2 separate regions of the Homo sapiens genome follow, and region 1 is linked to region 2. The links are contacts of gene promoters, found by promoter capture Hi-C in human tissues and cell types (Jung and others, 2019). All regions are on one chromosome and are shown on one strand. Each heading gives the region's core, a stretch centred on a gene start or on the middle of the fragment in contact. The rest is flanking DNA. Distances are from core to core; before and after follow the strand shown.

Region 1 (7,672 bases), core at 4,827-7,326, 210 kb before region 2:
TCTCTTCCCTGTGTCATTCATTTCTCTCAGCAGTTGACCTTTCATCTCTCAGCCCACCCCTGCCACTTGGCCACTAAGCCACAGGAGAGGAGGAATTCCAGGGAGAAGCTGAGAGCAGTCTGGGTGGCCAGAAAGGGAGCAGCCCCATCAGTGAGCCCAGGAGGGGAGGCAAGATCCTAACTCCTGAGCCCAGAGCCAAGGAGGTGGGCAGGGCTGGCGGTAGGGGTGACTCCCCTTGATTCCAAAACCCTTGTGTATTTTCAGGGAAATTGTATCCATATGTTTCTGATTCATTAACACTTAACTCATCAACATGTTATGTGATGAGAGTTATTTGAAGTCCAACACGCCTGTTTAATGAGACTAAAGAGCTTTATTACTCTTATTTTTTGAGAAAGGATGGGATTTTTATTTTCCTCTTTTCTCTCCAGAAAAGCAAGCAGTCACATCCTGTACAGTGATTCAGGCCTACGAAACTGACATCTTTGGAAAGACTACAAGACAAAAAGGCAAAAGTCCATGTATTGGACTTAGATCTGCCTTGACCGAGGTGATCTTCTCTTGACCACTTATCTTCTTGAGCTTCTGCACACATCCAAACTCCTCAAGTGACATAGAAAGATGCTTACGGCCAAAGGATTCGCATGGCATCGAAGTTCCTGAAGTCCCTAACTTATCTGTTTATCGTTGTCACCTCCTCATCATCTATGCCTTGCCCAGACTTTAGTTACATAAATTCTGTTCTTAATGAAAACCTTCAAGATGAAGTCTGAGGAAGTATGAGTGTGGCAGGGGCCAAAAGCAATTCTTTAATGGCTATGAAGATTTAGTCTCCAGAATCAGCTGAACCTCAGACAGAATAAGGTTGCTTGGACAAAAACAGGGAACCGTTGGATGAAAAGAGAAGCAGGAAGAACTGAGCATCCAGGACATGAGGTACCAGATTATTAACTAAGGAAACTGTAGAATCTTCCTTTCTGTACATCCCAAAGTAAAGGGTGATCAGACTCACCTTCTCATTGCATCTTTGACCTACTAAGTTGCTAATTAGCTACCCTTCCCAGAGGCAGAAGAATGGGTAAGATGACCTTCGGGGACCCTTGCTCCCCCAGGGCTTTTACCATTCTCTCCATCAACCCAGCTTAACTCAGCAGAGCCCACTAAGAACAGAGGGCCATTATGTCGTTCTTCTCTTAAGACCACGGACTCCTAGGGATGAAAAGGTCAGATGCCTCCAGTGCCCTCTGGGGCAGCCCATAGTTGCTGGTGCTTTGTCATGCTGGGTGAGGACAAAGCCAGAAAAGTAACCATGGGCTCTCCCAGCTGGTGAATCTAGCCTCCAGTCATCCTCTCTCATTCAGCCAGGGCACAGACTTGGCTGCATGGATTATTCTGGCTCCTGAGCACAGAGTTGAGGTACCATGCATGAAGATGGCAGTTTAGATGCTGGAATGATTTCACACACTGAGAATGGGGGTGGGAAAGAGAAACCATCTGTGTGCAAGTGAGTGTTGATGTCCATAGAATCCCAGATGCAGAGAATGTTGCTTACTGAATACCTCAGTCCAGTTATTCCCGCTGCAGAGATGACATCTAGTCCTACATTGCTTTTTCCTCCGATACCAAGGTTACAACTTATGGATGGAATAATTCCTGTGTCAATCAACATACCTTTATTAAATACCTGGGACAGAGGGGGAGAGAGAGAGAGAGAGAGAGGAGGCACCAAAGACAGAAGCCTCAGTCTTTTTACAACCTAACCTTAGAGGTGATATTCTATTGCTTCTGCTGTATTTTCTCCACTAGAAGCAAGTCTAGTGTAAATAAGACTGACTTACTCTAAGTCCAGCTCATGCTCAACATGAAGGGGTTCCACAAGGGTGTGACTACTTGGAGGCAGGGATCACTGGGGGCCATCTCGGAGGCTGCCTTCCACATACAACCAGGGTGGAAGTCAGAAGATGTGCATTCAACCTGGCTCAGTCTTTGCCACTTTCTGGGCATAAGCCTCATGCCTCTGGGATTTCCATTCTATCAGCAAAGCAAATGAGTTAAGATTTTTTTTCTGTTGGTAAGAGCCATGACATAGTGCCCTTGGAGAGTAGGTGGCAGACCCCTCAGGTGGCTAAATGCCTTGAAAAGTCAACCATCCCTGCCTTTTTTACAGAAAACCTTCTTCCTGGGCCATACACATGAGCCTCTTATTGTCATAGCCCTCCCGGGGAGGACACCTCTTTCCTATTGGGAATGCTTTCTTGGCGTCTAAGCTTCCATTTGTTCCACCGAAGCTTTGCCCCCCCACCTTTTTTTTTTTTTTTTTTTTTGAGATGGAGTCTTGCTCCATCACACAGGCTGGAGTTCAGTGGCACGATCTCAGCTCACTGCAACCTCCGCCTCCTAGGTACAAGCGATTCTTCTGCCTGAGCCTCCTGAGTAGCTGGAACTGCAGGTGTGTGCCACCATACCCGGCTAATTTTGTATTTTTAGTAGAGACGGGGTTTCACCATGTTGGCCAGGATTGTCTCGAACTCCTGACCTCATGATCCGCCCACCTCCGCCTCCCAAAGTGCTGGGATTACAGGCGTGAGCCACCGCACCTGGCCACCTTGCCCCTTCTTATCCGTGCCTGTTCTCATTGGTGCCAGAGACACTTTTGCAGGTTTATCTCTCTAATAATCTTTACATAATTTAAACATGGAGCACCTGGCCCCCTGGGTGTCTGGATGACAGATGACTTCCCACCAATAAGCCAGATCACCAGTGTAGGCACTAATTCAGACAGGAGCAGATTGTGTTCAGCTGCCCTTTTCCACATGGCTTATTCTGGTATTGACTTGTTCTATGGCCCTTTCTTGACCAGGCACCATCAAGTCAGAAAAACACTGAAGAGACAGAGAAAACTACATGAATTAAGGAAAGAAAGGAAGAAGAAGAGGTTATCTGAAATTGAACTTACCAAGACTTAGCACTTGACTGGGAATCTCATTGTCTCTTCCCACAAGATATTTGTGAAGGTCATTATCTTTGTGGTCAGGAGGAAGAGACTTGAGCTTTGTGTCCACAGCCAGTTTGTCAAGATCAGGCCCATATCTGTTTCACGTTAAGCTGTGAACGATTCTTAAACTTTGTTTCACAGTACCTTAGAGTAGTTTTGAGTAAAGCAAATCCTTTCTTTAACCTAGGATTAAATCCTATTAGACTTCAATGAACAAGAGCCACCAGAATTGACTTTCTTTATCCTAGCCCATGGACAGTTACCTTCCCAATGTCTTGTGTGTACCACTGGTTCTCTTCAGGGAGCCAGACTATATTAAAACTGTGGATATCATCAGGAAAATATCACAGGTGAACCTCTAGGTCCCAAAGAGTGCTGGGACTCAGGACCCCATCCAGAGAGTGGATGAATTCTAGCCCTAGCCCTCCTCACCCAGGACCATGTGCTGGAGAAGAATGTGGTTCAGGCCATTGGAGGTAGGCCCGAGTGCTGCACAGGTAGGCTATCAGCCTCACCCTCCACTTCTCTCCTGGCCTCCCCTCTCAGAGCCTCCCAGGACTGGGAGGAGAAGGTGCCCCTCCAGGTGCTGATGCTGAGTTCTTTCTGGAGCATGTACAGCCTGACTAAAAAGGACCAGCTGTGTGAAATGGGAGGCAAAGCTCATAAATGACCTATGAATTTTACTCACTGCCATAAACACATCAGAATCATAAGAACTTGATAGTCCTTCACAACCTCCCCAGATGTCTCCCCCTTGGCATTGAGAAGAGAGCCTGAGAACCATGACCAGGGCCAATTTTGCCTGAGGCTCAGGCACATGCACCTCCTTCTAAGGGGATCTCCTGATGCCCATTAGTGACTCACTGATGAGAGCAGCAGCCCCAGAGTGACTGCAGAATTCTTCCTCCTCCTTCTGCATTGACCCAATGCCCAAACCCTGCCTGCCTGCTGAAGTGCACAGAATGGGTTTATGCATCATTCCTGAAGCCATGGCCCCTTTCAGTGATCAAAGGACTGTAAGTACCAAAAGTCCAATGTATTCACTACGATCACAAAGCACTCACCACTGTGGGCACCGTATTCTGCCTGTGATAAGAATCATCGCATTTAATCCTCAAAATAGCCCTATAAGGATGTTTGCAAATGAGCATGAGGGAGATTAAGAAAGAACGTTACCAAAGGTCCACGGCTAGAATGGTTGAGCTAGGATTTGGACCTGGGCAACCTGACTTAACTGCCACTCCATGAGGCCCCATGATATTTCACAGCTCTCAATAAATGTAGCTGGAGGTAGCTTTTGTCTGTTTGGAAAGACAAAACCATGATTTACACATCATGTTTTTAAGAACAAGCTCTCCCTAGGGAGATTGTGTTTTCCCAAGATCAGGCATCTAATTGGTCTGAGGGCCTAGGAGATGGGGGCCTCTTTGTCACCCCTCTTTTTGGGTAGCACTGCTAGAGAACAGCCTTATACTGAGAAGTCAGCAATCCTCCCCCACAGCCCATGCCCTACCTTCTGGGAGCCCCAGGTTTTACACACTAGGCAGGGTAACATGAAGGACAAAGGGTAAGGACTAGGAAATGGGAGTCCGGCCTCCCCATGTGTCCTTGGGCTCTCCTCAGACCCGGTGCTTAGAGATTGTGATTTGGGAACCAGAAGGAAGGGCAGGGACAGGCATCTGTCATCTTGGCTGTAAAGCTACTATCTCTCATGTTAGGCGTCTGGTACACACAACCTCTAAGGCACTATCCAGATGGGCCCAATCACCTCACTGCAGAAGCTAGATAACCACCACCAACATAGCAAGGGGCAGAATGATCCCTGAAATTAATTTGTGGATGCAGATTTTTGAGTTGTCAGGGGCCTTAGAATCACCCACTACAGCTCTGCCATTTTACAGATGAGGCAAATGAATTCTAGACAGTTGCTTTTGAATTCCTTTGTTAGGATAAATCCAGTCATGAGTAACTGAGTTCACATGTGTTCACTAGAGCTCCCACCACCTGCATCCAGGAACTCATCAGAACTTCTGTGAAGCTTTGAGCTGGCAGTCACAGGAACTCTTTGGCCCAGGAATATATATGTTCAAAGAAGCAGCATTCTAGAAAATGAGACAATCCTAAATAATGAGACCATATGATTTATTATCCAAACTGGCATGCTTTTCAGAGGGTTAGAGTAGGGCAAATCAAAAGAAACGGGGACGTACAGTCCCAAAACCATAAGAAATCTTAGAGTCCTTCTTGGTGGAGAAGGAAGCATTGTATAAGCATTGACTTAGGATGTAGAGGCCTGAGCTGGCTTATTCGTCAATAGATTCTTCCTGGACCCCAGAGCACCAATGGAGACAGCTAAGGGCCTGCACACTCACAGCCTAGATTTTGGTGGTTCAGCTCCTGTTACAATTAGATGTGTCTTTCACAAGCCATTGCCCCTCTCTGGGCCTCATTTTCATCTTCAGAAAATAAAAGCATTGAACCACATCACCTCTCAGGCCCCTCCCTTCAAGCTGTAGCGTCTGGGAATCTATAGGACCCCTGGCTGAGAGAGGGGGTCCCAGCACAGCAGCCTCCCACTTTGTCAGCCCAATGAACTAACAGCAGAACACATGGCTTGGCCCCTCAGGCTCCCCAGGCCCTGCCCTCACGCAGTCTGCCCCAGCTCCCCGCTACAACCTGTTGTTGCTCTTCCTGTTTGATGGATGGGAACATCCCTATGCTGGGGGACCCTGGGAAGGAACTGCAACACATGTGCACGGGCATTCACAAACACACATAAGAACTGGGATAAATATTAAAAGCCACAACATTCAAACAAGTGCAGAGGCCATGCCAAGAATCCTCTGGCACTGCCTCTGTGGAGCACCTGGTCATGTTTAACCCAAGCTGCAAATATGATTTCCAAGTGGGGACTCCCAGCAGGGATGGTGGGAGGCAGACTGGACGTCCTCAGCATGAGCCAGGCTAGTCTGAGTCACCCCATTCTCTCCTAAGGGACAGGTTCCACCCCTGCCAGGCAACATCTGACAAAGAGGGAGAGTGCAATCCCTCCAGGTCTTCACCATGTCCTCACTTTGGATGTGCTCTTTTACCTAAGTTCTGCCACCACCTCCCTGGGAGCCAGCAGATGGGGAAACAGAAGGGAGATGGCTGGTAGAGCCCACTGGCTTCCCTCGGAGCACCTCAGCCTAATAGAAGTTGTCATGTGTCAGCTCAGGACATGAGCAGAGCCCTCCCGGGCAGCAGCTGCTCCAGCAGCTTACAGCCAAAATGGTGCTGATGTGAGGGAGGCCCAGCTCCGAGGCCGGACAGAGGAAGGAGCACAAGACCCGTGGCACAAAAACAACCAAACAACAGGTGAAGGGGAAACGGACTGTGCATACAAAGTTGACCTCCTGCCTTTAGCTGGCTTGGACCTCAGTGTTAAGGATGCCACCTTTCAGATGTGGTGAGCAACAAAAGCAGGAAGGGCCAGATAATTTGGAACCAACTGCTAAGCTTTGTTCAACTTTTCCTGAAAATCCCAGATCTTCAAGTTACAGATCCAGAGGGATCATGGTATCTGACGCTCTCATTCTGCAGATGAGCACCCACACTTATGTAGGTTCCAAGGACCCATCCCGTGTGGTTCAGCTAGCAGAGCCTGAGTCATCCAGCCCAGCATTTTGCTTTGTACTTACTCCTTACCAATAAGAATATAAACATCATAATGGGATCAACTATGGATTTATTCATTTACTCTCTATTCAAAGTATCATAATTCTTTGGTTTTGAATTTTTACAGATCTCAAAATATCACATTTTTGCAAGTAACTGTACTAAATTTTGTAAAGTGGGCTATTCCAATAACAATCTTTAATAGCTAAAGAAAGTTTAGAAGTCCGTTTAAAAACTTAAATTTTAAGGAAACTATAGCATTTTATCAAATGCTGAATTTTCTTTATAACTAGCCAAGACATACTAATTGTTTCTGACCCTCCAGTTCCCCTTAATGAAGCATTTGAATTTAGAGAACATGGGTCTATCTGTGTTTTACATATTCCTCATCCAAGATGTCTTGTGTTCCAGTGAGCTCTTCTGTTGAGAATAATCAGAAAAGGTGGTAAGTCTTTGCAAGAAATAGGTAAAAGAGGTAAAATCGTTAAGAAAAAGTTGAAAGTTTTGCAAAGAAGTCATGAAAGAGAGAAGAGCACCAGTAATCACTATTACAGGAGGAAGGGAATTGATGGGTGCGGGGGTACTGGCTAAGACTTCCAGAGGGCTAAGCCTTTGAAATCACATGTGTTGAGGAGGCTTGAGAAAGGCCCATGCAGTTCTCCAAGCAAGTTCAATAAAAGTTAACCGAAGCATTCAAACATTCCAACTGACCAGGGCCCACTGTGTTTCCACAGACTGCCTTAGCATCCCAGTTGTAAAATCACATTGGCCATTGTGTGGCGAGCAGATGCAGAAAACATGCCTTTTAACTCGCTCATTATAGGAAGCAAAGCAAAATGACCATCTAGCCTGTCATTAAAACAGCAGGGGAGTGAAAGCTTGAAAAGTTCTAGCAAACGGGGAAATAAATGGAAATTGAATGGATAATAGTGGATATACCGTACCAAGAAGATGTGTATCATGTCTTTTAAAAAGGCAGAGCACTAAGTAAGGGTGCCATATTTTTAGTGAATATATTTA
Region 2 (7,823 bases), core at 3,857-6,356:
TCTTTTCCTAATTTACACAAATTTACCCTCTGCACTAACAGTGGTAAGCTAGCTCTTACCACTTCTCCCTCCCAAACTGTGTGAAATCTCAGTTGCTAACCATGCACTGTGATTTTACTTGGCCTTTTCACGGTTCATATGAATCATATTAAACCTGCTTCAAGTAGTTAACACTCTCTCTCTCTCTCTCCTCTTTTTCCATGTGATTCCATTTTTTCTACCTACCCTATCTCTCTCCCACCTAGATCTGGTGCTACCAACACTGTCTCTAAGTCACAACAGATCACTTTTCCTGGTTAATCTCATTTTCCAAAATTGAAACAGCTTCTGAGCGGTCCATTGTAGGAACATGCCAGATCCCATGATCCAAGAAGACAGAAGGGCTCCAACCAGAAACAGTATTTATGGAGCCTGCCCTGCTCTGCCCTATCTGTCTGGAACTGCTCCAGAAGCCTCCTTAACATCAATTCGTGCAGCTATTAACTTATATGCGGCTCACATCGGGATATAAATCACTCTGCGTCACAGCTGGCTCCGGCTCCTTTAACAGCCAGCCTCAGGGTCAATTTAGACTCTAGTTAAATTGCCACCACTGCAAGCACCACTACAAAATTAACTCTAAAGTAGCACATGGTTTTACCCTCAAAAATCACTATAATTCTGTTCTATGAGAAACTACACATAAAACCTAGAAAAATATTGTGCAGAAAGGATACAGAGCTATTTCAGGACACTGACTACCTCTGTCCAGGGAAGAGGATGCGGGGATGGCATGCATGGGAGGTGAGCTGTTATCTGTCCCACTCTACTTCTCTTTTAACAAAATCTTCAGCTGGGCGCGGTGGCTCATGACTGTAATCCCAGCACTTTGGGGGGCCAAGGTGGGTGGATCACAAGGTCAGGATTTCAAGACCAGCCTGGCCAACATGGTGAAACCCTGTCTGTACTAAAAATACAAAAATTAGCCAAGCACAGTGGTGCGCACCTGTAGTCCCAACTACTAGGGATGTTGAGGCAGAAGAATCGCTTGAACCTGGGAGGTGGAGGTAGCAGTGAACCAAGACCGTGCCACTGCACTCCAGCCTGGGAGACAGAGCAAGACTCCATCTCAAAAATAAAAAAAAATAAAAATCTTCAACAACAACGGCAAAAAGTGAACATGTGTCAAATAAGTGTAGGGAGTGGAGGGCACATGCTCTATTATCTTCTGTTCTTTGAATGTTTGAAATGTGCCATAATTACCTTTTTTTAATTTAACAGGGGGAATTTTTATGAATTGTGGCTGAAGATCACTTCTGATTATTCCTCAGAGAAGGTTTAGGACACCCTTTGATGAACCCAAAGTCATCAAGTTCCTACCCTGGCCATACCTTTTCTCCAAAGAAAAGTAATCATGAACACAGCATCTGGTGGGACACAGAGGGTTTTGCACCTCAGGCTGGCCTGGTGCTATTGGGGCAACAGTGCAGTGCCGATGCTGGGGTGGCCTATAAGTGGACCCACAGGGTGTCCGTACCTGTCCTTCCATCCATGCTTTTTCTTCTCCCGTTGCCCCATCCCCATTGTTAAACACCTCTACCAGTATCTGCTTCTTTCCCTTCGTGAAAGGAGGCGTGTTTCTAATGATGTATCTATCCTGCCACCTAGCCTTCAGCAATATCACTACAACAAAGTTGCCTCATGCTGCTCTTTAACACAGACTTCAGTCTTGCTGAACCTCCCAGAGCTAGGGAAGGACCTGAACAAGGGGGCACTTTCTTTATTGAACATCACTGTACCTTAGTTTGGGACCAGGACAACATGGCCGCAGCATTAGTATTCTTGATGTGTGTTGGCCTCTGGGAGAGACTGAAGTCAATGTCATGAGGTCTTTAAAAATTGAATAAATTATATAAATAAGCCTGTCTGAGAGTGGTGAGAGTGACACAGAAAAGAGAATGAAGACAAGATCCTTAGCTAACATTTTTCCATTCTAACCAGTAGAATCCACAATACTTTGTGTCCTACTAAAAAGTCTAGCTTTCCCAAACTGTGTTATCAGGCATCATCCTTGAAAATCACTTAGAAACTCACAGGAAATGACCACAGGCAAGGCATCCGAAGCTTTATAAAATAAAAACACTATCTATCCTTTGAAAAGTTATCCAGATAAAAGATCATAAATCTTTCACTCCGCTGCATTTCTTGAAAGCTGGCTTTGATAAGCAGTTAATCTTTTAAAGGAAAGAGGAGGAGTGATCTCCGGGGAAACGGGACACAAGTGGTTGATATTTAAATACTACTTCCCCGAAAAAGATGCAGTTGACAGGTATAGAAGCTAGTCTATGCCAGAGTTGGGAAGCCCATGACAGCGAAAGCAAGCCGGCAGCACAGGGGGGTCTCTAGGAAGGGAACATTTGTATCTGGCAGGAATTAATGATCCCCTCCCAATTACCCTGGTTGATGCAAACTATTTTTTTTTTCTACAAGCAATTTTCTAAAGGTGATTGTGAACAGATCTAGACCTCCAGAATGGAGGGAAGGGGAAAATGGAATCAAGTAAGGCTCATAGGCATCCTCCATAATCCCGTATCCTGCAGTAACAACACCAACACCTTCCCACTCCATTGTCATATGTTAATTATGGACTCAGAAACAACACCCATCTGGCCAGTCCTCCATCTTTGGATGAAATTACTATAGACAATCCCAGGCTACTGAGAATTCTTCTTTCTCTCATGCCCTCTCGGGAAGCCTATCCCAGGGTCTCTTGGACAACAGCTCCAGTGTCTGAATCCCTTATAACCTAAGCCCATTTCTAAGTGGAGATAAAGAATGGCTGCTTAGCACACCAACACAGCACATGTATACATATGTAACAAACCTGCACATTGTGCACATGTACCCTAGAACTTAAAGTATTAAAAAAAAAAAAAAAGAATAGCTGCTTAACATTTACAGTCTTGCAGAGTAACCTCTCTCCATGGCCCCTGTACTGCTCTGCCCCAGGGTCCGGCTCCCACCACATTCTCCTCCCCCCTTCTCTCTACCCTTTTTATCTTTTCTGTGAATGATCCCCCCTCCTTTTACCTGTCTTCACATATTGTATTATCCAGCCATTGGAAGTCGGCTACACAAAAAGAGGTGTCACTAGAGGCCATCTCTCTCAGAATACAGGGTGACTGGAACGAGGCAACTCATGTTTCTTTGGAAGGAGTACCACAATTTCCCCCAATCATCTTAAAAGCTACCAGTGTGCCTGAGGCAGGCTGAGCTGCTAAGGGTGTGCAGAAAGAAATAGGAGCAGGGAAGAGAACATACTGCACACATTCTGCTGCCACTCTTGTAGTCTGAACTTGACACAAATGACAAAATAACACATGATTTCCCTCACTTCTAAAATATTTCCACCAAAGTTTTGAATATTGATTTGTTCCTACCTTACCAAGCCCTCAGACTGAGAAAAGAAGAAATTAAGATGAGCCTTGCTGCTATTTTTTGTTTTAATCATTACACACAATGCTCCTCCCTCTCCCAGCCACCACGTGGCTAAACCCCCTTTGGCAATACAGGCAAAGACATAACTTTAGACGTTAACCTTGTTTTAAAATGTGCCTTTCGGCAAATAGATAAGTGAGAAGAGAGATCAGGATCTGGGGGTGTTAACGGCATAAAGTGAGATGCTCCTGAACTGAACGAGCAAGAAAAAATATTTTCTTGAAAGCAGTCCTCCAGAAAGAATTCTTATCATAGATAAGGGTGCAGTCTAGTGGCAAACTTCATGAAATGCAGCCCCTTCTCCAAAGGAAAGTTAGAATACTTCTCAAGGGAGGAAGCACAATGTAAAAGGTGTAACAGCCCACACCAAGTCCACCCAGCAGGGGCAGTGACATTGGTCATTTCTCTCTGACTTGCCTGTGAGGCTCATGGCTCACTCAGGTCAATTTCAGAAAAAGCTAAAACCACCACCTTCCTATTTCAAGGCCTTAGTTTTCTTTCATTTTATTAAAGAGGTTCTAGTGGCATGATTCGGTTCCTGGTCAGGACCTCTTCCAAGCAGGTCCTGTGGCCCTGTCAGCTCATATTCCTGGGATGTGCCTATAAGCACCAACTAACCTGTCAACCTATCACAAGGTCTCCTCCAGCTACTCTGCCACCCACTCCCTCCAGGGATGTGGCCCTGCCCAATAGAAATACCTCTGCAAAGTGACAGAGAGGGAAGTGTCACTCCAATCCACCTTTCTTCCCTCTAAGAACCCCACACACAAGGACACTTTAGGCCACCATGCAAGGTTTTCAGACTTAGCATTTCCTCCAAAGTGTCCATCTCTGCAACTCACTGCTCTCAATAATGCTGTTGTATGAATGTCCATTCCTGCAGATACACAACACACACACATACACACACACACACAGAGAGAGAGAAAGAGAGAGAGAACCTCCCTGGCCAACGCAGCTGAAGGCAACTGGTCACCTCTTCATCATGAGTACTGAAACCCCCTGATTAAATCCTCTTCTCCAGACTTTTAGGGGAGAAATTCAATTTTTTCTTCTTTTTTAAATTTAGCTCACCAGACATCACTGGCCATTCTACACTACCTGTCCCCCAAACACACACACACACACACCCCACATGGAAACAGACACCAGCATACAGTCAATTGCAGAAGCTTAGGAAGATTTCTTGGGCACGGTATATCCAGTTGGCTAATAAGAAAATACGTCTCCCTTCAGCCTGTGCCTTGACTACTTAAAGGATAGGAGGGAAGGGGAGACGAAGTTACTCTCCTCATTGTGTTCACCCTGCTCCGAAGAACTCTGTCTTCCACTGGCCCCTCCACCTCCTCCCCATTCTCGGTAGCCCCAGCCTGTCCCCCTTGCCCCTTTCTTACATTCCGGGGGGAGGAGGGCGCTGTTCAGAGGGGAGGAGGGCGCTGTTCAGGGAGCGAAGGGGAGCCCCCTTGTGTCTAGAAGGCCTCTCCCCACCCCCACCCCGTGTGAGTTTGTACTGCAAAGCTCCTTGGCATCCTTGCCTGAGTTGGGTGTTGGGAAGCTCAAATTGCAGCTACAAACTGGCTGGCAGCCAGGGGCCGGCTATTTAAAAGCGCCTGCTCTCCCGGAGCCCCGTAGTCTCTTTGGAAACTTCTGCAGGGGAAAAGAGCTAGGAAAGAGCTGCAAAGCAGTGTGGGCTTTTTCCCTTTTTTGCTCCTTTTCATTACCCCTCCTCCGTTTTCACCCTTCTCCGGACTTCGCGTAGAACCTGCGAATTTCGAAGAGGAGGTGGCAAAGTGGGAGAAAAGAGGTGTTAGGGTTTGGGGTTTTTTTGTTTTTGTTTTTGTTTTTTAATTTCTTGATTTCAACATTTTCTCCCACCCTCTCGGCTGCAGCCAACGCCTCTTACCTGTTCTGCGGCGCCGCGCACCGCTGGCAGCTGAGGGTTAGAAAGCGGGGTGTATTTTAGATTTTAAGCAAAAATTTTAAAGATAAATCCATTTTTCTCTCCCACCCCCAACGCCATCTCCACTGCATCCGATCTCATTATTTCGGTGGTTGCTTGGGGGTGAACAATTTTGTGGCTTTTTTTCCCCTATAATTCTGACCCGCTCAGGCTTGAGGGTTTCTCCGGCCTCCGCTCACTGCGTGCACCTGGCGCTGCCCTGCTTCCCCCAACCTGTTGCAAGGCTTTAATTCTTGCAACTGGGACCTGCTCGCAGGCACCCCAGCCCTCCACCTCTCTCTACATTTTTGCAAGTGTCTGGGGGAGGGCACCTGCTCTACCTGCCAGAAATTTTAAAACAAAAACAAAAACAAAAAAATCTCCGGGGGCCCTCTTGGCCCCTTTATCCCTGCACTCTCGCTCTCCTGCCCCACCCCGAGGTAAAGGGGGCGACTAAGAGAAGATGGTGTTGCTCACCGCGGTCCTCCTGCTGCTGGCCGCCTATGCGGGGCCGGCCCAGAGCCTGGGCTCCTTCGTGCACTGCGAGCCCTGCGACGAGAAAGCCCTCTCCATGTGCCCCCCCAGCCCCCTGGGCTGCGAGCTGGTCAAGGAGCCGGGCTGCGGCTGCTGCATGACCTGCGCCCTGGCCGAGGGGCAGTCGTGCGGCGTCTACACCGAGCGCTGCGCCCAGGGGCTGCGCTGCCTCCCCCGGCAGGACGAGGAGAAGCCGCTGCACGCCCTGCTGCACGGCCGCGGGGTTTGCCTCAACGAAAAGAGCTACCGCGAGCAAGTCAAGATCGGTGAGCGCGCTCAGTGTGCCAGTCAGTTACGCGGCGCACGGGCGGGGGACACGAGACCGGCTGGGCCCGCGCGCTTTGCGCAGCAAGTGGCTTCGAGCTGGGGTGCAGCTCGGGAGTAGTCGGGGAGGGTCCTTGCACCCCGGAATTGGAGCCCTGGAGGATCCTGCTACCCGGGGGAACTGTCTAGCCGAGTCTATCCCAGCTTTCGCTCTTTCTCCTTCCTCCTACCCACACGTTGCCCGCCCCCTCCCCCTACTCTGTCCGAATACTGATTCTGAGCTCTTATTCGGTCACAAGGTCCAAATCCCCTGGTACCCTATCTACAGTCTGAAAGAGTGTATGTTACATTATCAACTCCCTCCTCCACCCCCCTCGCGCCCCGCATAGGTTTTTTTCTGAACTTGGAAAAAAAATCTCTTTTGTTAAAATATTATTTTAATTGCGGCCTGGAGAGAGAGGCATTACCTATCTTCTGAGCTAATTCCACCTTTGTCCCTCTTGGCCCCTCCACCCCCGTGCCTCCAGACGTTTCTATCCCTCCACCCCTACACACACACCACAAACACCCCACATCCTTGGTAGCTAATGCCTTTCGGGTGGGAGCCCTGAAGCCCCTCCCATGTGCATAACCATTGCTTTTTATTGAAGATGATTGCCTGTGGTAGATGGTAAAACATATTTAACTGCAAAATGACTTTTATTTTATCCCAGGAAGGGAAAAAAATACTTTAGGAGTGCGGGGGTGCGGGGTGGGGGTGGGGAAGAGTAGAAAGGAAGGGTTTGGTATTCTGTGCCTGGTGTTCGTTTCTGAATCTAATTCCTTTTCCCCCTCTCCAATTCAGATTTTACCTAGGATGAAAGGTGGACATAGGGCTGGGAGGCAAAAGGGGATGTGAGATTCAGAGCTTTCAACTTCCTCGCCTATGCAGATTCCTGGCACCACCACCACCTCCACCCCCGCCCCGCAATTCCTCCCTCCGCAATCCCCCCACCCCGCCCTCCCCAATCTCTTAAACCAGATCACAAGTGGGTGTGGATTAAGTGCATGAGGGGCCCTGGAAACGCAGAATGCAAAATTCAGGGGGCGGAGACAGAAAAGCCACGCACTGGGAGCCTCGCCTCCGCTTGCCCCGCCCCCGGGTTGCGCCGCCCCCAAATTCTCGGCGCCAGGAGTCTAGGGTTGAAATGATTGACACAGCTACTTGTTCAATCAGAACAGTTCTACCCCCTTAGACTGAGTTTCTTTTTGGAAAGAGTTACCTGATCTTTAGTTAAAAAAAAAAAAAGTTAAATAAACTACATAAAAGTCTGGGTTCTAAGACGTCAAACTGGCTATTGATTCTCTCCAAAAGGGGTTAAAACTTGGCTAAACAATGTTTATTTGGCGTAGTTTAGTTACGGAGACAGTTTAGTTACGGGGGCAATCCCCTTCTCCCTCCCTGTCCCTTTCCGTTACTCACGAGCACCCTAACATGAGTTTTCTGAAGTGCAAATTTCAGTCACTATAGTGCAGGAGAGGAGTGCGTCCGCGCTTGCCAGGAGGCCGGAGAGCTTCCTGTGTTCAGCCTCAGTCCCCGCAAACCCTGCAGGGTTTGAGTGGCGCAGGG

The links. Contacts are between HindIII fragments. The study calls those that stand out against the background at their distance.
Region 1: a contact is called between a fragment that was not itself captured here and the fragment with the promoter of IGFBP5 in region 2, in 3 of the 25 tissues and cell types used here (aorta, bladder and pancreas).

What each region holds. Positions count from the first base shown.
Region 1 is chr2:216,908,251-216,915,922 of GRCh38, reverse strand. No RefSeq gene overlaps it. Among named protein-coding and RNA genes, the nearest start is that of TESHL, 41 kb to the right of the region's middle. RefSeq lists a silencer at 6,143-6,437. The HindIII fragment of the contact is 4,829 bases long and covers 3,662-7,672 here.
Region 2 is chr2:216,692,832-216,700,654 of GRCh38, reverse strand. IGFBP5 (insulin like growth factor binding protein 5) reads left to right here and starts at 5,106. Exons shown (of 4, transcript NM_000599.4): 1 at 5,106-6,216. The coding sequence starts at 5,880. IGFBP-AS1 (IGFBP5 antisense RNA 1) reads right to left here and starts at 6,209. Exons shown (of 6, transcript NR_187138.1): 1 at 5,894-6,209. RefSeq lists a silencer at 1,650-1,729. The HindIII fragment of the contact is 12,405 bases long and covers 3,377-7,823 here.